Linked DNA regions of Homo sapiens: regions 1, 2 and 3 are each linked to region 4. Evidence: promoter capture Hi-C in 16 types of primary human blood cells and fetal thymus (Javierre and others, 2016). All regions are on one chromosome and are shown on one strand. Each heading gives the region's core, a stretch centred on a gene start or on the middle of the fragment in contact. The rest is flanking DNA. Distances are from core to core; before and after follow the strand shown.

What was found. Contacts are between HindIII fragments. The CHiCAGO score rates a contact against its expected background, and 5 or more counts as called.
Region 1: a fragment that was not itself captured here is called in contact with the fragment with the promoter of GRM8 in region 4 in 1 of 17 cell types (endothelial precursors); the score reaches 6.5 in endothelial precursors.
Region 2: a contact is called between a fragment that was not itself captured here and the fragment with the promoter of GRM8 in region 4, in 1 of 17 cell types (M2 macrophages). The highest score is 6.7, in M2 macrophages.
Region 3: a contact is called between a fragment that was not itself captured here and the fragment with the promoter of GRM8 in region 4, in 1 of 17 cell types (M2 macrophages). The highest score is 6.1, in M2 macrophages.

Annotation. Positions count from the first base shown.
Region 1 is chr7:126,811,261-126,815,325 of GRCh38, forward strand. The region is part of intron 6 of GRM8 (glutamate metabotropic receptor 8); the gene reads right to left. Among named protein-coding and RNA genes, the nearest start is that of MIR592, 240 kb to the right of the region's middle. The HindIII fragment of the contact is 918 bases long and covers 1,806-2,723 here.
Region 2 is chr7:126,852,407-126,856,105 of GRCh38, forward strand. The region is part of intron 6 of GRM8 (glutamate metabotropic receptor 8); the gene reads right to left. Among named protein-coding and RNA genes, the nearest start is that of MIR592, 200 kb to the right of the region's middle. The HindIII fragment of the contact is 4,899 bases long and covers 1-3,699 here.
Region 3 is chr7:126,793,965-126,797,841 of GRCh38, forward strand. All of the region lies in intron 6 of GRM8 (glutamate metabotropic receptor 8), which reads right to left. Among named protein-coding and RNA genes, the nearest start is that of MIR592, 260 kb to the right of the region's middle. The HindIII fragment of the contact is 1,967 bases long and covers 1,192-3,158 here.
Region 4 is chr7:127,250,968-127,254,629 of GRCh38, forward strand. GRM8 (glutamate metabotropic receptor 8) reads right to left here and starts at 1,974. Exons shown (of 11, transcript NM_000845.3): 1 at 1,830-1,974. RefSeq lists an enhancer at 2,812-3,061 and a silencer at 3,182-3,241. The HindIII fragment of the contact is 9,242 bases long and covers 1-3,662 here.

The sequences.
Region 1 (4,065 bases), core at 1,015-3,514, 440 kb before region 4:
GTTACTATAGCTTTGTAGTATAATTTGAATTCAGGTAATGTGATACCTCCTGCTTTGTTCTTTTTGCTTGCTTTGGGTATTCGGGATTTTTTTTTTCTTTGGTTTCATACAGGTTTTAGGATTTTTTTTCTAATTTCATGAAAAAAGACACTGGTATTTTGGTAGGAAGTGCATTGAATATATAGTTTTGGGTAGTATGGTCATTTTAATGACATTAATTCTTCTGAATCATGAGAATAGGATGTTGTTCCATTTTTTAATGTCATCTACAATTTATTCATTAGTGTTTTGTAGTTTTCCTTGTAGACATCGTTCACTTCCTTGGTTAAATATATTCCTAGGTATTTTGAGGTTTTCTGTGGCTATAATAAATGGGGTTACCTTCTTGATTTGATTCTCAGCTAGATGATTATTGGTGTATACAAAGTTTACTTATTTTTATTTGTTGATTTTGTACCCTGAAACTTTACTGGATTCATTTATCAAATCTAGTTTTTTGGTAGAGTCTTCAGGGTTTTCTAGATGTAAGATTATATCATCAGTGAATAGGGATAATTTGGCATCCTTTTTTTTCCAGTTTGAATGTCTTTTCTTTCTTCTTGCCTAATTGCTGTGGCTAGGACCTCCAGTACTATATTGAATAGGAGTGGTGAAAGTGGGCATATTTGTATTGTTCCAGTTCTTAGAAGAAATGATAGGCAACGAAGATTTTGAAGGGTGGAGGGGTGAGAGGGGTGAAGATGAAAAGTTACTTAATAGGTACAATATGCATTATTCTGGTGAAGGATACACTAAAAACCCTGAGTTCGCCACTATGCAATATATCCATGTAACCAAATTACACTTGTACCCCATAAATTTATACAAATAGCTTTTTAAAAAAATTAGAAAAAATAATACAAATAAAAAATACAGTAAACAACCATTTGCATAGCATTTACATATATTAGGTATTTTAAGCAATCATGAGATGATTTAAAGTATAGTCATGCATTAATTAATGAGGGGGATACTTTATGAGAAATGCATTGTTAGATAATTTTATCATTGTGCGAACATTACAGACTGTACTTACACAAACCTAGGTGGTATAGCTTACTACACAACTAGGCTATGTGGTACACCCTAGCGCTCCTAGGCTGTAAAGATATACAACATGTTACTATACTGAATAGTATAAGTAATTGTAACACAATGGTAAGTACATAGGAGAGGTACAGTAAAAGTATGGTATTATAATCTTAGGGTATCACTGTTGCAAATGAAGTCCGTCATTGACCAAAACATTGTTATGTGGCCCATGACTGCATACAGGAGGATATGTGTAGATTATATGCAAATATTACATTTTATATAGGAAAGTTGAGTGTACTTGAATTTTGGTATCTGTAGGAGGAGTCCTGAAACTAATCCCCAGCAGATACCAAGGGAGGACACTCTATACTCCTCCAACTGAGGTACCATCAGCTCAGGTGGCAGAACGTATTATGCTTACTAGAGCTTACAATCTAACAAAACCCTAGAAAGTAAACATGCATACATAGAGCAGGTATGCTTTTGCAGTAGTACATGACTTTGGGATGCTTTGCAACCAAGGAGGTTTCTCATCTCTGCTGGAACTTCCATCAAAAACAGACAGGAAACTTTTATGCAGTCTACCACCAATGGGCATTTAGGTTGATTTCATAGCTTTGCTATTGTGAATAGTGCTGCAGTGAACATTTACCTGTATGTGTTTTTATGCCTACCAGGGGTTGTAGGGTGGGAGGAGTGAGAGGATCTATAAAAATAACTAAAGGGAACTAAGCTTAATACCTGGGTGATGAAATAATCTGTACAACAAACCCCTATGACCCAGGTTTACCTATATAACCTACGCATGTACCCCTGAACTTAAAAGTTTAAAAAAAGAAACTTTTAGATGCTTCCTAGGGAGGTGACTATTACAAAGGTTGAAGCCCATACAAAAACTGATAGTATGAAAGTTTGGGGAAAATGCTATAGCAGATCATTCTGCCAATAAGCAGGCTTCACCAAGGTTATGAGCCTAATTAAACTCTCAAAGAATAAATCCCTTGAAATATTCAAAAAGGCCGTTATGAAATATCAATGTTAAGTTCCTAAAAAGTCCTAAAAAGGAAGAATGGAAAAACTCTGGTTGCACATTTCACACAGATCATCTCTGGCACCCCCAATGAGGACACTGGAGACATGAATAACTTCCAATGGATATGAACAAAATTTCTCTATAAAACTACTCATCATGGTACAGACAAATTGGTTACTATCTTAAATCATCATTGGTGGGGAAGATTTATGGACTGATGAGGCTATTTTTAGATCATGTGTCACCTGTCAACCCAACAGCATCTTGGAGAAACTATAAAGGTGGATGTGAAACCTCAAGAACCCTTAACACCCTCAGATAGGTTTTGTCCAATTTCCATTCTCCATGAAACTTGTATGCCTATTTTCAGGATCGGTTGAAACATTTCCTTGCTGAAAAGCTACAGCCTTCACAATCAGTACAAAGCTCCTTGATAATGCATTTCTAATTTGGGGCATACCAACTTTTATAACAAGTAACCAAGGCTCATGTTTTATGGGAGCCATTGTAAAAGAAATTTGTAATGCATTGTCCCTTACTCAAAAATGACACTGCCTTTATTACTCACAATTTTCTAGAAAAGTTGCAAGAACCACTAGCATCATTAAAATTAGCAAGCTTTCTGAAGGACGTGAGCCTCCTTTGGGAGGCCAAAGTTATTTCCACCAGCACTTATGGCCATATGGTCCACCTGCTCAGAGAATTACTGGTTATCTATCTATGAACTGGTAACTGGAAGGCCCCTTCATTTATGGACACCACCTACAGTATTAGACTACCCTGCTACACAAAAATATGACAAAATAGCAAAAGAGGCTCATGTAGTATACTCAGTTTTATCACCAATAAGTTAAGATTGACTTCTTAACTTGTTTACAATCCTTTCCTACACAGCCTCTTTATGATCTTCAACAGGAGATCCTGATTATTAGAACAGACATTAGAAAAAACTGTTCTTGAACCTCCCCTGTAAGGGACCTTATCAGATACTTTTAACAACAAATACATCATTGAAACTCCAGAGATCAATCCTTGGATTCATGTTTCATAACTAAAGAAGCAATTCAATATTCTATACAACTGGAAGGCTACTCCAACAGAAAAACTTAAACAGAATTCTTAGAGATATTATAGAAATAGTTGGTCTTCAGAAGCAGATGGCTGATCCAAAACCTCCAGAAAAAGATGATCTTGGACAGTAGACAGCTTGCACCCAATACATCCAACCTAAAACCCCTGCATTCTTGTTTGTTTTTCAATCTTCTTACCTGTTACCACTCTCCTTATTTTCCATAGAGCTCTGATTGTCATCCACTAATAATGGTTCTTTTTCTCTTTTTTTTTTGTCTATTATAATTAAGTCAGAACATACTCATTCTAATGCCATTCTTATATTTTTTTTTTCAAAAATAAGCCACTGCCCTCAATATTACAGACTGCTGTATAGGTCAACCAGAACCAGAACCCCTGATAAAAAACCTCTGAGCAATCCTAGTCTCATCAAATGATACCCCAGCAAATTATAATCAGTGACATTTCCACTTGTACCTACATGGACAAATGACTTTAAACAAATCAACCTAAGACTTTGCTGTTGTCTCTCTATACCAGAAAAAGAACCAATTCTTACTGCCTGTTTATCAGACTCTATATAATTCTAAATTTGAATTCCATAATCTTCACTGGACAATGGGCCAATTACTTGATGCCAGGAAGACAGTAATAGAGATTCAAATAGGTAAACTCAGCTAATGTGAGGCCTTGGTTCCAACCTCATGTCATGAATAATTCTTTTTGTCCATGGCTGTCCAGTTCGTGACAAAAATTCCTGGTCTCATCTGCCTCAGGCTAACACCTCAAGTCTTTTTGGTACACAGAGGCCCTGATTCTATAAATCATCAAGGCTGGAAATTCTGACTCAAATACAAGTTCCAAAATGAGGCCACCTTTGAAGCATT
Region 2 (3,699 bases), core at 1,139-3,638, 400 kb before region 4:
CAGTAGCAGTTCCTCAGTTAGTAGCTGGAAGGGCCACAGGTTGTCAATAGCAGGATGGTATTCGGTAATCATTACCCTTCTCTTTTATCCTAATTAAATTATCCTAGTCCTAACAAAAGGAATAAATGAAAAGAAAGAGCTGACAGTAAATAGGTTTATAGAACTGAACTAGAAAGATTAGAAATTGCTTTTGTGCCAAATTGGAACATTTAATAAACCTTCTTAGAAATCTTAAAATGTATTGAGAGTATTTTCTTTAAGAGAATTTTCAAGTGTTGTATTTGCAAAATCTAGTGATGTGTGACTTATTCCTCACAAAATCCAGCCTGTGTAATTAATCTTTGATCAAAATATGTGTGTGTTATATACTTTCATATATTTATATTTATTTCTGTATATTTATTTTCATATATTTGTATGCTTAAATATATGTATTTATAAAAAATGGATAAAATTTTACCTTTTTGAGTATTTTTAAGTTTTGGATTGTCCTTGATCATAATAATCATAATAGATTAACATTTTTAATTTAGTTTTGTTCAAATGACTTAGTGTTGCTCCAAGCAGTTTAGAAGTAAACAGTAACTTTGCTAGCATCCGCATTATTTTCAAAGTTCAGAGAAAACAATTTTGTGATGGATGGAATGTTTCATAAATATAGGCCACAAGTCCAGGGTTTTCAAAGAAGGATGTATCAGATGGAATAATACCAGTAGTACTTGCTTCCTCCGTTTCTTTCAGCCATTTTATGTTAACAGTGATGTTACTTGACTGGCCTTAGAGGATGAAAGAATCAGACCACTGGAGACAGTGCATGCTGAATTTGGCATCTGCTTTTCTCTGCATCATCAGTTACTAGTGTTTTGTTTGATCTGTAACATGTAATAACAGATGATGGAGGTCGCAAGGTGTTTTTTTTGTTTGTTTTTTTTAAGTCTTTGTTCTCTTTATTTTGCTGTGTTAAATTTTGCACTTACTTTAAGAGGCTCCAGGTCATAGAAAGAATAGGTGAGCCTCTAATGGACAAGTCTTGCAGAGGCTGCCTTCTAGAGACAGGAAGCCTGGTTTCTGACTTAACCTATGAAGCAGTTAGGACTCTTCCTGGACCCAGAAAAACATACAATTGAACCAAGTCGTTTTATGCATGACCCATTCTACATAAGTAATCTTTGACACAGGATTATGTATACATATAGACTTAAATTCGATATCATTGCACCTTGATGAGCAACAAGTAGCTTAAGCAAAAAAGGGACTTTACTATAAGGATACAGTGGCAGTACCTGGAACCTAAGGCACCTATGAATGGTGCTGGGCCTCAGGAATGGGCAGGACCCAGGGGCCATATGCCTGGAGGTGTGCTCCTGTTCTCTCCCACTCCTCTCTTCACTTGCTCTCCAACTTCTCCGTTATTTGCTTTTCCTCTTTCCTCTCTCTCCTTTGCTTTCTCCCAGTTATAAAATCTGCTTTTCACTATGCAGTAAAAAGGAATGGATCCTTATTGGCTCTGGCTGAGTCAGGTACCCATGCTTGCCCATCAGTGGAAGTTGTGGTCAACTGGGAAAACATAGCTGGAAGGAGGCTCACAGCTGTAAAGACTGGTATGTGAACATCAGGGTAGGAGAACTGGGGGTGGGGTGTGGATGCTTCCCAGAAAGGGAACCGGGAAAACCATTTAATGTGTCTACTGTAATTCTTTCTGGTTCAGTGAGCCTTTTAGTGGGCAGAAAATGAGTTGCTCCCAAGTTTTAAAATCTCTCACAGTGCCTTTGTCCCTGTTCCCTAAACAGCCTTTTCCATGGTTCCCCTCCGCCAGTGGAATAAAGCCAAAACTAGCTTAAATGTAACAGGGAAATCCTTCATTTAGATTACATCAACCTAGCTTTTTCTTTTGCCACTGCCTCTCTTACACCATGAAGTCCAGAAAAATTGAACTATCTTCCATCTCCTGAAATGGCTTTATCTTTCCCAGCTCTTACTTTCACTTGGATGGTTTAATCTAGTGGCTATAGTTTTAGTATGCATCAGAATCACCTGGAAGGCTTGTTAAAACTCACATCATTGGAAGAATCCACAGAATTTCTGACTCACTAGGTCTGGGGTGGAACGCAAAATCTTACATTTCTCACAAATTCCCAGGTGATGTAGAAGCAGCTGGTGCTGGGATCATGCCTTGAGAAATTTAATTTCTCAGGAGTGCTCTTCCACGCATCTACATTTATGCAAATGTTAAGATTACTTCATTCTTAGCTGCTATGTCTTATTTTGTCTTCCTTAGCTGTTAAACCAAAAGTAATTTCTGTCTTTACTGTGCTTCTGTAGCTAGTTGGAATTCTCTTAAACCATTACCTACCTTGCATTACAATTAATTTGTAAGTGAATATTCCTTAAGGGTAATAATAACTTACCTATTTTTGCATTATCCATAGTGCATATCAAAAATATTTTCTAGGCATATCACTGGTGAACAGCAACAATTTTGACTTTCTCTTTACTGTTTTGGATGCCCTTTATTTCTTTCTCTTGTCTGATTGCTCTGGCTAGGACTTCCAGTACTATGTTGAATAGAAGTGGTGAAAGTGGGCATCCTTGTCTTGTTCCAGCTCTCAGGGGGAATGCTTTCAGTTTTTCCCTGTTCAGTATAATGTTGGCTGTGGGTTTGTCATAGATGGCTTTTATTACCTTAAGAATATTTTCTATATATTTTTAATTGAATTACAGATGTAGACCATAACCTTAAGAAATATGAATCCTTTCATAGGAAACTGGAGAGTATTTCTTATTTTTTTCTTACTCATAATAGTTGTACCTTAATTCTTGACTTACATGGTCCATGAACTACAGTTTGTGAAGAGGTGAGTGGATACCACTTTTGGATCATCTACATTGTGCTAGCTAACTTGCATATTTTATTTTAAATTCTGTCAGCAACCCTGAAGATACATACTGTTAATCTCATTCTACAGATGATAAAACTAAGTCTCAGAACAGCTAGGAAACTTGTCCAAAGTCACGGTAGGAAGTCACAGAACCAGAATTTGTAAAGGGCAGCCCTTATGATTTATCTTTTTTTTTTTTTTTTTGAGACAGAGTCTCGTTCTATCCCCCAGCCAGGCTGGAGTGCAATAGAGTGATCTTGGCTCATGGTAACCTCTGCCTCTCAGGTTCAAGCAATTCGCCTGTCTCAGCATCCTCAGTAGCTGGGATTACAGGCATGTACCAGCATGCCTGGCTAATTTTTGTATTTTTAGTAGATATTGGGTTTCACCGTGTTGGCAAGGCTGGTCTCAAACTCCTGACCTGAAGTGATAAACCGCCTTGGTCTCCCAAAGTGCTGGGATTACAGGTGTGAGCCACCATGCCCGGCCCTCTTATGATTTTTTATATCCCACACTTCCTTCCCATGGAGAAAATACTTAACACTGATCATGAAGTGAACTGCCAGCAATCAAAGAGGTGATAAAGTCCCTGGAACACAGCAGGTGTCCAGGAGAAGATGGCCCAACCAGGCTGCCAGGAAAACACTCCTGGCTTCCTGATGCCATTTGCCATGTGAAGCTGTATGCCAGATGCTGGATTGTGAGAATGGAGAGTCTTTCCTTAAAGGAGAAAAGTGGCTTCAATGATTAAGAAGCATGAACTTTCATCAGCTTTTTGTACTTCTTCTCATATATTACTAAAAATCTACGTTTTTTTTCC
Region 3 (3,877 bases), core at 925-3,424, 460 kb before region 4:
ACCAGTAAGGAATTACTCTGGATCATTAATAGCAGTAGAGATTTCCATCAATTTAAATGGCCCTTGAAAATAACACATAATATTTACTTGCCTGGGTTTTCTTTAAGAAAAATATCGATTTGAAACTCAGAAATCACAAAAACAAAGAGGCTAAAATCAGACAGAATGTCTTTGCTCTATTACTGAAACCACATAAAAAATAAAATAAAAAAAAAAGCCCTTAGCACTAGCAGTGTCAATTATCCACATTATTTATCCTGATATACAATCTTGAAAAAAATCTGCCTATTAACCTTGTGGAATGCATTCTCACAGCCATTTTGCTCAGCAGGAGCTTACAACCAGTCCTAAATTGTTAGTGGCAATTCCCAGGTTTAGTGTCTCCAAAGGTAATTTTCTCCAGTTACCAAAGATTAGAGTCCTCAGAAAAATGGGGTCCTTAAAGTTAACATACTGTCATCACAGACCCATTTTCCAATTCAGAAGATAAATGTATTTTATTTGCTACCTAAGAAATGATAGCAAACAACAGGACACAATTCATATTGATTTTTCTTCCGAAAAACATCTTCCTAATCAATATCATTTATTCTAATATATAAAAATAGTGTTCATACTTAACCAGTGCATTATGCTGTACCCTGGTATTTTATTATTCTGAGTTTTAAAAAATAACAAGACCACAACACTAATTTAAAAATAAAAGAAATAGCAGTGCTTGTTAATATGCCCTAAAACGGTGTTTGTCAAAGTGTGGTGGTTCACACACCTGTAACTAGAATTAACCAGGATGCTTGTTAACGTTCTGTAACTCCATCTTAGTGAATTAACTGGAGGGGAATTTGGAAATTGCATTTTCACAAAGATTTCTGGTGATTCCTGCGCACACTACAGTTTGTGAAACACTGCCAAGCTAGCCAGTGGTTCCCAAGTCGGCTGTACATTATACTCACCTGGAAAATTTATAAAAACACCAATGGTCAGACCTCAGCCCAGAGCAATTAAGCCAGAATCTATCGGCCATGGGCAGTGTTGCCAAATAAAATACAGAAGGTATTTCTTTAACATGCTTATAGTAACAAAATAATTCTTGTTTATCTGAAATTTAAATCTAACTAAACATCCCATGTTCTTATTTATTACATTTGGCAGCCCAAGTTATAAAGCTCAGGCACAGCAAGATTTTTAAAAAGCTTTCCTTTTTGAGTCAACTGGACAGTTGAGATTGAAAACAACTGATACTAAACCTAGGCTCTAAAGATATCGAAAGATATGACTATACACAAACTCTCAGGCATTAGGCGCAGAGTTGAAACAATCTAGCTCAGAAGCAAAGTGAAGTACCCATCACAGCTCCACTATCTCATATACTCATTTGTTTTCCCCAAAATTTTACAGGTGTTGACTGATTTTTAGGTAAGTTTATAATAAATGAAAAGTATCAACATAAGACTCATCTTTTTAAAATAAAACATCATTTTTAGGAAATACTTAGAAAATACTAAATAAAATGAGAGTTTCCAAAAAGTTGGTGTCCATGATCAGCTAAATTCTTTTATAATTGGAAAATTGGCTTCTACAGTCACAAATCCCTCTTTTTGGATCACCAGAATTCCCATTAGGAGAGGAGTCATGAGTAACAACCACCTCTCTCAATGCCATTCAGTCTGCCTTGAAGCGTTCACCTGGCAGCAGAAAATTAACAGCATTTCCTCCTTGCGAAAAAGTTAGGAGCCTTTAGACATTATCCAATTGTCCAATGAATGGGGATCCATGTGGATAAACGCAGGCACAAAATCATCCACAGTTTTACACAGTAAGGGAGAAGATTAAGTTTACTGGATGTATGTTGCTGCAGCCAGTGAAGTTAGAATAAAATAAGACTGGAAAAAAAAAAAGCCCAAAATTTTTGGAAAGGCAGAGTTTCCCCATTATGGTCACCCCACATTTAAAACATCAACATAGTCTACACATAAAAATAATTTACAATAAAATAAAACATCAATATATGAACCTTAAAATAACATTTTCTCAAGAAGAATTTCAGCTTCTAATTTTCCTTAATATACATGAGTTAAGATTTTAAAGATGAAATTTAAACAAAGCTGAATTCTAATCAGATAACTGATTTCAGGAGTTACTAAATAAATTTTAACAAGAATATATCTTCATAACGTACCTTTGTAAATGAAGAAAGAACACAAATTAATTAATATGAGAAAAGTACACGCCCATTTAAGCCTTTTTTATATAATTTATCTCTGTTGTCCATGATTTCAGATTTCCTGAAATTTCCTTAAAAGGTATATTCCCAGTATCACATCAACATATCATATCATATCAAACACTTAGCCATCATCTTGCTTCTGAAAAAAAAGTGAAATTCTAAAACTACCTTGATATCTATTAGCATATAGCTCTAGATTTTGATGATAATTAATCCACTTCTTTAAAATGTGGTGTTTACCAAAGAGGGAAACATAAATGACCAGTGGATGACTTAAATGACCTTCACTGAGTTAACATGGCACTCCTAATGACCATTTGTCATGGCTCCTGGCAAACTATTTCTCACTAATATAATGATAGGGGAGTGGCTCATAGGAACCTGGTGATTTAGTGTTTACACACTAAATCCCTTTAAATTAAAAATAAACTAAGCACAAGATGCCACCTCATTTGAGGTTCACAGTGTGCCCATTCCTCCCTTTTTGGTCTAGGAGAACACTAGCCCTCTGTGAATGCATGACATAGACTCCTCTGGCTAAGATCCTCTAGTTAAAGCACCCTCCAAAAAGAAGAGCCCTCCTCTCATGGATATTATATTCATTATTAGCAAATAAATATCATTATTCCCAGAAACAATTTTGGAGGACCCACTGGGGCTTGTCTCAATTCTAGGCATTATAAAATTCAGTCCTACACTGAGCTCATCATCTTATCTCTCTTTAGGATAAATAAATGTGGGTTGCGAGATTTAATAAATAAATATACACGATGCCCAGTTAAATTCAAATTTCAGGATCAGAAGTGCGCTGTTCTCTCCTTTTGAATGGGAGAGTCTAATTGGACATTTTACAATTATAATCCATTTACTGAAAATAAAAATAAAAGTTCAAACTGAACTCTAGACTACAGAAATGGTCATTAAATGTGAAAGCTTCCTATCCCCACCCTATGAGTTATTATCAGACTTGCAGTTCATTAATTCTTGAGATATTCATGGCTTATAATTATCCTAGCTTTTCTGTCAATATAAAGGTTACAACTTAATAAGAGTTACCACGCTAAACCTCTTAATTTTTATAAATACTTCATCTGTGTTGTGAATAGCATTAGTAAAAGTGGCTTAAACTGAATGGCCTAAGAACATCATTTGTGGTTTATCATCTATTATTTACATTTTTAACATTTAATCTGGAATTACAAGCAAAATAGCATATATTCTTGTTATTTTTTAAAATATTAAATCACCAATAACATTTCCAACTCTATTTTTTTTAAAAAATCATATTTTGGATTTCTCTAAATACCATGCCATGCTCCATGGTCCATGAATATATTCATTAGGACTGCAGCCAGCAGTGTGCAAATTTATCAATAACTCTCAAGTAACAGAAGTGAAAGGCTGCTCCAATTTGAAGTCTACTGACAATTCTCTGAAGCCAAAACCTTTTAGTCTATCAAGCATGGATTTATTCATGATTTTTGACCTTAAAAACTTTAGGGGGAGAGTGTTGAAAAATTTAAAGGTCTAATCATTGTATAAAAACTACTCTTAGAACATGAAATACTATTCTAAAATCTGTACCTAGGACTAAGATTGTGTAAAACAACAAAGGAACTCAAAATTGACTGCTCTCTCTCTTCTCCCTCA
Region 4 (3,662 bases), core at 724-3,223:
TGTCAGTTGGCAGGATTTGTATTCAATCGCGGTAGTAGCCCAGACTCTAGTGTATTCTTGGGTGTTCCAGAGACTCCCGCACCTTCAGGTTTGTGGGAAAGGATCCCCCAAATGGCAAATAAGGCACTCCCTCCCGGGGTGGGACTTGCTTAGGGGACTTAAGGGTTTCTGCAACCGGCGAGGGGGTCTGTTTTCACCCCCGCTATCTTGGGTGCGCAGACACTCTCTGACACCAGGCTTCACAGTTTGGGCCACGGGGGAAGTAATTCCCCAGGGAACCGCGGGGGTGCGGTTTTGCGCAACTGGGTGACTCGCGTGTCCCTCCGCATTTCATTTGCACCAAGGGAGCGCGTGTCAGACGAAGGGAATTTTTTTTTCTTTTTTGGTGATTCTGTTATTTTTTCACCAACTGTACGAAGCTCAAGGGATATCCGAGCTTTCTGGCTGGGCGGATGGGCTTCGCGCTTGGCATGGCTGAGCGGTCCATCTCTACCTCTCCGTTTCTATCTCTACCATAACAGCGACCACTCAGCCCGCCAGGAGCCCCTGTTTCCCAGCGCAGGTTCCTTTTTCTTCTCAGTTCCTTGGGCTGTTGAAGCCGGGTTCTGGGTAGATAGAGACTGGGGCCGTGGGGAGAGCGCCAGGCTGCTTTTGCCTTTCCCGCGCCCCGGGGCATTCCGGCGCGCTGGGGATGCAGCCTCCGCCCCCGCCGCACCTGGCCGCCCGAGCGCCCGCGCCCACGCCCCGCGCGGGGCCGCCCGAAACTGGGGCCGCGCCAGCCGCGGGAGCTACCGAGGAGCTGTTGGGGTGCGTTTGCCTTTGCTTTTTAAACAAGATCCCCGAGACCTTTTCTCCATCCCCCCAACCCCCAGCAGGACACGGAACTCCGGCGTTTCTCGAAAGCCACAAAAGAGGGGCACGGAAATCCCAAGCTCGCCGTGCTAACTCGGAGAACGCAAACTCGAGGCAGAGCGTGCGCCGTGCGGGGATGTGGGTGTCGAGGACCCCGAAGCGCCCGGCTTCCCCCGCGACCCCCATCCTCCCTAGATCCTGGTTAGACATCCATCCAGCCCACGCTCAGAGGGCGGGGGTTACCCCGACTCATCCCGGAAGCCGCTAACTTCAGAAATCCCTCCTGTTAGGTTCGCGAAACGAAGGTACCTCGTCATCTCGGCGGGGCAAGTCCGGATTCCACCAGGGCAGGTCCGGGAGGTCACCCAGGGCAGACGATCCGAGGCAGAGCGCTTTAAAATCCTGCCGCCGCACGCCCAGTCAGAGCGCCGAGCGCGCCTGCCCCCTTCCCGTCACCCTTCAGTCTCCCATTCGCCGACTAAACTTTTGGGGGATCACATCTCCAAGCCTTGGGAGTTCCGGGTAAAGTCTCCCTCTTTTCTGAACCTCTTTACTGTAATGTAATCATGGGCAGACAAGAGGGGTGGCTGCCTTGTTCTTTGCAACGTAAAATCAACAGACACCCAATCAAGCTCCAATGCCCGGCCAGCCCCTCGCCCCCTGGTGCCCACTCTCCTTCTCCCCCCATTCCCGTCACCTCCGCCCGCTATTTCTCTCACAGACTACGGACATGCAGGGCCATCTACTTGTGCTCAGGAAAAACAAATCACTAGAGTGATATGAGAAGGAATGGTGCACCTGGCTGTCCGCTGAAAGGTTTTAGAGAAGAAAACGGAAAGGGGAATAAAACGGGGGGATTCTCCTTTTCCAACAAGCAGGGCGTTTTGGGGAAGTTTGGGGGCCAGGGGCTTTTTGTCCCGTGGTTCGGCACTTGCTTTCCTCGGAGCCGCTTTCTGCTGCCGGGCGGCGAGTCTTACCCTGCTCCCCGCAGAGGGCGCGGTGAGGAAGCCCGCCGGGGGCCCGCAGCTCCATGTCAGCGCCGCCGCCGCCGCCGCCGCCGCCGCGTGAGGCGAGCACAGCGGCCGCACTTGTGGCTGATCTCTGGGCTGAGGGGGCTGAGCTGGCCTAGCAGGCGCCAAGTCTCTTCCATGTGAATAACAAATACTCCCACCGGCGGCCGCGATTGGTCTGCGCCCGGCGCCTCCCGATCCTCCGCCCGCGGCCATTCACCCGGCGCGGCGCGGGGAGCCGCGGCCAGGATCGCGCCCGGGATCGCCAATCGCTTCGCGCCAACCAGTCACCTCGGGAAGCGGGAGGAGGAACCCCCGAGGGGCGGGAGCCTCTGGATTTCGGTGTCACCCAGCGGCCCTGGCGCGGGCAGGGAGGGGGACCCTCGGCCCGCGGATCCCCCTCCGCTCTTCAGCCTGAAGCGACGAGGAGACCAGAAATGTCAATAGTTCTGATTTTTAAAAATCATCCCCCCTTCCCCGCCCCCAAGAAAAAGGGGAGGACCCAACTACAGAGTGAGAGGGTGGGAAGAAGCGGGAGCGGTAGAAGAAGGAATATGGTTGTGGAGGAGCCCAGCGGCTCCGGCTGCCTGGCGAGCCCGGGACCGGCGCGGGGAGGCGCGACGCCCGCCCGAGCACAGCGGGCAGCACCCGCGAGCCCGGGTCCCCGGTGAACACAGCTCCAGAAAGCGTCACCGAGAATAACACATGGTAGATGACAAGTGTCCCGCCACATGCTTTCTTTTCGGGAATGCTTAAAGTAGAGCCGGCAAGCCGCGCGGTTCCCTTGCAAAGTTTGCCTGGCGCCGCGCGGCGGTTCCGCCATTTGTCCCGCCCCGCGGCTCTGGCGATTGTCTCCCCACTCCCCGCCCCCGAGGGTCTGAGGGACGCGTGCAACAGAGTCCCCAGGGCTCGAGGTACCACACAGCGCGGTCCGCTGCGGGCACTGCGCAGGAAGGGGCATGGGTGGCTACCGGGACGGTCATTTTATTGAGATGATTCAAGGAGCCGCAGACGCGGGGCAGGAAACTCCGGGGGAGCCGTGCTCGGGTTCTGCAGGGAAACCTCGGGATTCCCTTCGCATGCCGCATGCGGAAACCTGCCGGGCTCGACGTGCACAGTCCAGCGCTCCTCCCCACTAGTTACTGCCCAGGCCCCCCGATCCTGCACCCGCCGGAATGAGAGAAAGTAGCCCCTCGCCGCCCAGCTCCCGGGTAGCTGCTCCGGCCGGGCCTTGCGTTGGTGAGAAAGTTCCATCTAGAGGCGGCCGCGCGCAACTGCAGGCGGCGCCCTAGGCCCGGGCGAGCCAGGGAGAGCGGGGCGCGGGGGGAGAGGGGGCAGCCCAGGAGATAAGGAGGATGGAGAAGGACGGGAGAGACCCCGAAAAGGCAAGCTCTAGACCCCCGTTCGGCATCTCTACAATGAATTTTATCTTCCTAAGCATCATGAACTTATAAGCATTATGTCAGGAATCTTTCATTAATTCCTGTATATATCGCCTGTTCTGTTCGGGTTATTTTAATTTTCACATCAACTCTGTGAGATGGTCAAAATTATTAAGCCCACTCTACAGATGGAGGCAGAAGCCGAGGCTTAGAGACACGGCTGGAAAGTATTACAGCCAGAAATCAGTGTCTGGCTTCAAAACCCCATAGCACTTCCTCCCTGGTGGTGTTGGCTTTTCCCAAGGCTGGTTGTAATGTGCGAAGTTTCGATTGAGGAAACAGCTGTCTCTCTCCTAATTTCAAAAAAGGACCCTTGCCCTTTGTCACTTAGAAAAAATCTACAGGTTTTCAGCCCAGG